Regions from separate parts of the Homo sapiens genome. Here region 1 is linked to region 2. Evidence: promoter capture Hi-C in 16 types of primary human blood cells and fetal thymus (Javierre and others, 2016). All regions are on one chromosome and are shown on one strand. Each heading gives the region's core, a stretch centred on a gene start or on the middle of the fragment in contact. The rest is flanking DNA. Distances are from core to core; before and after follow the strand shown.

Region 1 (2,820 bases), core at 89-2,588, 150 kb before region 2:
TGAGATTTGGCCCACAGGCCATAGTGGCCAAACCCTGACTTAGATGGTTGTGAGTTTCAGTGACTGCTTGTTATGATTAAAACCAAGCAATTCATCTTAAGCAAAATTGCTAAAAATAAACTCCTAGGCCCAGCAGTGGCATGCAAATATAGTTCCAGCTACTTGGGAGGCTGAGGCAGGAGGACTGCCTGAGCCCAGAAGTTCCAGTCTCTAAAAAAATTAAAAAGAAAAAAAAAACTTGTATAAATCCCTTTCTAGAATAATTGTATTACTCATTTACGTCTAATAGGATAATTATGTCAGACTAACAAATTAATTTATATCAGGTTAATATGAAACTAATAGGAAACCCAATTATTGATACTAGTTGGTAAACTCATACCTTCTCCCCAGCTACAAAGAAGTCTATGAATATGTCATTCTGTTATCATTATCATTATATTTAGCTAACATTCATTGAGCACTTACTATGTCCTAAGCACCTTCTATTCATCAGTTTTTCCCCATGGCAACATAGGAATTATTAGCCCATTTCACAGACGAGGATAATGAGATTTATGAGCATTATGTGCTTGTACGAGGCCTGGTCTGTCTGACTTCAAACCAGTTCGCCTAAGCATTATATTATACTGTAGACATTACTGGAAATCAAGAAAGAGCACCTCTTCTCTCTTCAAAACCGAAACCTAGACATATTTCCATAAAATGCATATTCTTTTCCTTCAAATTTAGGGTATTTCAATTAAGCCCTAGTGTTTAACATAAACTTGCTGGTTGGCCTACTTTCCTGAGGAAACAAGTGAAGGGGAAAGCACCTCTATTGACCTAACTTGGCTACCTGTAGTAGGTAAAATTATGGCCAAGTCCTAATCCCTGGATCCTATGAACATGTTACATTACATAGTAAGAAGGACTTTGCAGGTGTAATTAAGCTTAAGGACCTTAAAATAGAGAGATTATCCTGGATTATTCAGGTAGGCTCAATCTAATCACAAGCCCTTAAAAGCAGACAACCTTGTTTGGCTGGAATCAGAGAGATGCAACAGAGGAGGAAGTCGGAGAGGAGGAAGGGTAAGAAGGATTTGACACGCTGCTGGCTCTAAGATGTAGGGGCAATGGGCAAGGACTGCATAAATCCCTCTGAGAACAAAGAGTGGCTTCCAGGCGATAGCCAGCAAGGAAGTAAAGACCTTACCCCTACAATCAGAAAGAACTGGATTCTGCCAACAACTTGAATCCCCTTGGAAGGGGATTATTCCCAGAACCTCCCCATAAGAGCCCAGCCGGCTGACACTCTGATTTCAGCCTTATGAAATCCAAAGCAGAGAAAACAACCAAGCTACCCTAGACTTCTGAGCTAGAGAACTGTGAGATAATAAATCTGTGCTGTTTTAAGCTGCTTAGGTTGTAGGAGTTTGTTACAGTAGCAATAGGAAACTAATGCACTATCCAAAGAACCCAACATTTGTAGGTCAAGAGGGGAAAATCCAGGTGGGTGCCTTGGCTTCTAAATAACACTGGAATGAATCATAATACATACAAAAGATAACGTGTATTCCTAGAGCTTGTCCCTTCTCTTTTTGTTCTTCCCAACTCCCCTCTCTTTAAAATAACAAACTTTTAAAATATTCAGGTAAGGGCCATGCAGGGAAAATGTTCCTAACTGCTGGTAGACAAAGGTAGACAAAGCAAACCAAACAACCAGTCTCTGAAACTAGACCTTAATGGGGCTTCTGAAGCTTCAACAAGAATAACGAAAACATCTTATTTCAGACACATGATCTTACCATTCCTGACCTCCCAGGGCTCTTATTGACTCTAGGGCACGTATGGAGACTTGATAATACCCAGAGCTGATATTAAGCAGCTGCACCAGTAGATCCTACCAGTTGTTGATGCTGTTATTTCTTCTATTTGTTCAGGGCCCATGCCAAACCAGCTGTTAAACATTTTGTATATCTCCCGTATTACATCCAAGTTTATTATATATTTAGTTTTACTATTCTCTAATGTAAGGCTACATGTGCTAGTTTTAATATGTGTTTGTGAACTTTTTTACACTCCTCCCATTAAGAGATGGAATCTAAATTCCTCTCCCCTTGATTATGGGTTAGCCTTAGTGACTCACTTCTAAAGAATAATACGCAGCAGAAATGACAGTGTGACTTCCAAGGCTAGGTAATTAAAGGTGATACAACTTCCCCCTGATGCATACAAACACACCCTCCCTCCCTTCTTCTTTCTCAGAAAAGCTGCTCTTTGAACTTTCTATATCAATCAACATGCTGTAAGGAAACCCAACATACATGAAGAGGCCATATGTAGATGTTCTAGTCAACAGTCAGCATCAACCATTAGACATGTGAGAGAGGTAGCCTTCCATATGACTCTAGCCCCAGCCACTATCTGACTGTAACTACATGAAAGACCACAAATGGTCAGGTGCAGTGGCTCATGCCTGTAATCCCAGCACTTTGGGAGGCTGAGGTGGGCAGATCACCTGAAGTCAGGAGTTCGAAACCAGCCTGGCCAACATGGTGAAATGCTGTCTGTACTAAAACTACAAAAATTAGCTCAGCGTGGTGGCGGGCACCTGTAATCTCAGCTACTCAGGAGGCTGAGGCAGGAGAATCGCTTGAACCTGGGAGACGGAGGTTGCAGTGAGCCGAGATCACGCCAATGTACTCCAGCCTGGTGACAGAGTGAGACTCTGTGTCCAAAAAAAAAAAAAAAAACCACAAACGAGAACCATGCAGCTGAGCCTAGTGACCCCCAGAACCATGAGAGAGAAAAATAATGACTGTTGTTTCAGTACTCTAA
Region 2 (3,182 bases), core at 598-3,097:
TTCAAGAGCCACAGATTCAGTTGCAGGAGTAGGAGATTTCGCTTTATCAGAAAGCAATAAACCCATCTAATTTCCTAAATCTTCAGCCACAGAAAGCGTGGAAAGATGGTTTGCTCATTTTAGCAGTTTTCAACCACACAACCCTAACTCTTTTAAAGTTTAATTACTGGTTTACCCCTGCCAAAATAAACATGGCCTCCTGCAGGTTTGCTACATTTCAAACTGCACCTAGAATCTCCTCGTTCCTATGTAACGTTCAAGTTAATGAAGTATTATGGGTTGTATGAGAAAAATTAAAACGGTAATAGTCAAGGGTTCAGAAAGCCTAGAATTTTAGAAAATCCCTCACTCCTTTCCAAGATATTTGATTCTTTTTCATGGGAATACACTTCTATCATCCTATATACTCTCTGGGTACATCATTCTCACCAACAGTCATTAAAATAACTGAATCACAATATCTTTCAAATCTTGGGGGAAAACCTCTGTTTTCCTTCATATTAATTTGTAAATCAAATTGCATCTCACCAGAGTCACTGGATAAGAAAGGAATTGAAGAATATCATTAAAAGCACACTTTAAAGGACTGATTTGTGTTTTGTGAATTAAATTTCATGATTCGTTCAAGCAAACATTAATAAAAGTCAAATGGAAAGACACTCCAGCATGGTTTTCATCACAATGTAAAGTCTTTCCTCAAAATATAAATGAAACTATGTGACTATGAATTCACAAACACTCATTTTGCTAAATGTACCACATAAAAAATTTTCCACCCAATGCAACAGAATCAGCCAGCCACTCGAAGCCACTTACACCCACTTTGCCTTCTGGACTATACATTTGGTACTTGGGTGTATTTATTTATTTAGGCTCCTTAAAAAAGCCTTCTTTATCATTTGCATATTTGATAGAAACTAAAGATACACCACCTATGAACGCAGGCAAACAGCCCTATACCTGTGTTATGACAAGTTTTGCTACAATAAAGCACAAGGAAACTTCTCGACACACACCCAGTTCCCCCGGCCTCCTGCACTCCACTTACCTAGAAAGAGGATCGTGCCCAGAACTAGGGTGCCACCGACAAACACGACCAGGGCAATTCGAGTGCCTCTGTTGGCCTTCTTTCCAGTCTCCACGCTGCTCCCTGTTTCTGCTTCCATCAGAAGGGCCGTAGAGAGCACACGAGAAGAAAGTCACTTTTCGTGGTTTGGTGGCTGGTCTCAAGAGCGAGGCGTTGACATCCAAGGCTTTCTTGCTCTTCTACTAATGGACAGCTTAAGAAACTGCCGTCAGGAAATCTCCCCTCGCCACCCTTTCTCAAATAATTCTTCACAAATGAAAATTATAAAAACCAAAATATTGGTTGCCTTGGCTTTCCCCCTGACTAGACAAAACAAACAGTGTTGCTTTATCTTGGTGCTCTCCCTCAGCAAAGTCCCTGTTTGGCAGGCTCTTCTCTCAAGCGTTCCGAGTATATATGTTTTACTATGTTGCTGAACAGATGTTTTAGCTATTTAAATGTATAGTCACTTGGGGAGGAAAAAAACAATTGTTTTATCAAAACTGGATTCTCGTGAAACTCCCCCAAATCATGATAAGTTAGGTGGCCAGGATTCACCGGACCCACTTCAAGATCTCAATTAATCATGTAATTCTGTTGCAAGAATCATTCTGCTTGCCTGAATTGTCTTCATCAAAGATATTCTTTCAGTGTGTGAGTCCCTTTTTAAAGCCTTCTAAGAGTTCCTAGGATATCCTGGAGCATTTTATTTCAGGAACTTTGTGTATGATAGCATGTGCCAAAAATCAGTCATAGTCCAGTGCAGTGCAAAGTAGCAATTAAGACAACCTACAGAGGCTGATGGTTTGAACTGGAACTTTTTCTTAAAGGAAGGAGAAAAAGCACTTCCTCTTTGTGGTACTAAGAAGTGTACAAAAAAAAAAACCCACAAAAAAACACAAGTGCGTGAATTAAGTTTATTAGCAACTACAAAAGATATGATGAAAAATTTTTTCCTTGTGTGTTTTTGATGAAAAGTGCACCATGTGTTTTGTCTGCCACTCCTACTGAGGCAGCCATTCATTAGGATGTTTTTGTGTTTACATAAACTGTCCACTTCAGCAGATTCCCCAGGATGAATTCAAAGGCAATTGGTTTCAGGCCGGGCGTAGTGGCCCACGCCTGTAATCCCAGCACTTTGGGAGGCTGAGGCAGGGGGCTCGCTTGAGGCCAGGAGTTCGAGACCAGCCTGGCCAACAAGGCGAAACCTTGTTTGTACTAAAAACACAAAAATTAGCCGGGCATGTTGGTGAGCACCTGTATTCCCAGCTACTCAGGAGGCAGAGGTGGGAGAATCGCTTGAGCCTGGGAGGTGGAGGTTGCAGTGAGCCAGATCGCGCCACTGCACTCTAACCTGGGTGACAGAGAGAGAGACCCTGTCTCAAAAATAAACAAACAAAAAACAAAGGCAGTTGACTTCACTGGAAAGACTGATGAATGACTGGGTCTTTGATATTTTTGATTATGATAATGATTTAAACGATAACAATGTGCTTTCTTCATGGGGAAGGGCAACTGATATTCCAATGCTACCACTGAAATGATATAGATTTTATTATCCAAAGATATAGATATCGTTAACTCACAACACAATTACTACCTACCTGCTTTTGTTTTGCTGGAGGTCATAGGGCAGTGGGAGTGGGGGTGGAGAATTCAACTATATCTAGAAACCAGTAGAGCAATTATCTCAATGCAAAACTTGTGCGCATGGCTTTAGAGGTGACACAGGAGCTCAGCAGGTGCTGATGAGCTCAGTATAACATGGCCACACATTCATGGTCCTGTCTGGCTTGTCTTGGTCAGGGCTTAAGCCCTTAGCATGGGATTCTCTCAAGTTTTGGGGCTTATTCCATAATATACCTTACTTTCTGCTCATTTCATGTTGCGCCAAAGTCAGGGGGTCACAAGCCTTTGTCCAAGTTATGACATCATGGTGTGTTGTAGTTATCCTGTGCTCATTGGCTGTTGACATTATTTTGTTGCTGTTATTCCATAACACACCCTAGCAGGACTTTGGCCCCTAGTATGGGATTCTCCCAAGAGTTTTTGGACCTCACTCTAGAACACATCTTAGACCATGAGTTCCACAAAGTCAGGAACCATGTTCAATGTT

Evidence for each region. Contacts are between HindIII fragments. The CHiCAGO score rates a contact against its expected background, and 5 or more counts as called.
Region 1: a fragment that was not itself captured here is called in contact with the fragment with the promoter of PHEX in region 2 in 1 of 17 cell types (neutrophils); the score reaches 5.9 in neutrophils.

What each region holds. Positions count from the first base shown.
Region 1 is chrX:22,185,672-22,188,491 of GRCh38, reverse strand. All of the region lies in intron 14 of PHEX (phosphate regulating endopeptidase X-linked), which reads right to left. Among named protein-coding and RNA genes, the nearest start is that of PHEX-AS1, 14 kb to the right of the region's middle. The HindIII fragment of the contact is 807 bases long and covers 935-1,741 here.
Region 2 is chrX:22,030,990-22,034,171 of GRCh38, reverse strand. PHEX (phosphate regulating endopeptidase X-linked) reads right to left here and starts at 1,847. Exons shown (of 22, transcript NM_000444.6): 1 at 1,049-1,847. The coding sequence starts at 1,166. The HindIII fragment of the contact is 6,886 bases long and covers 1-3,182 here.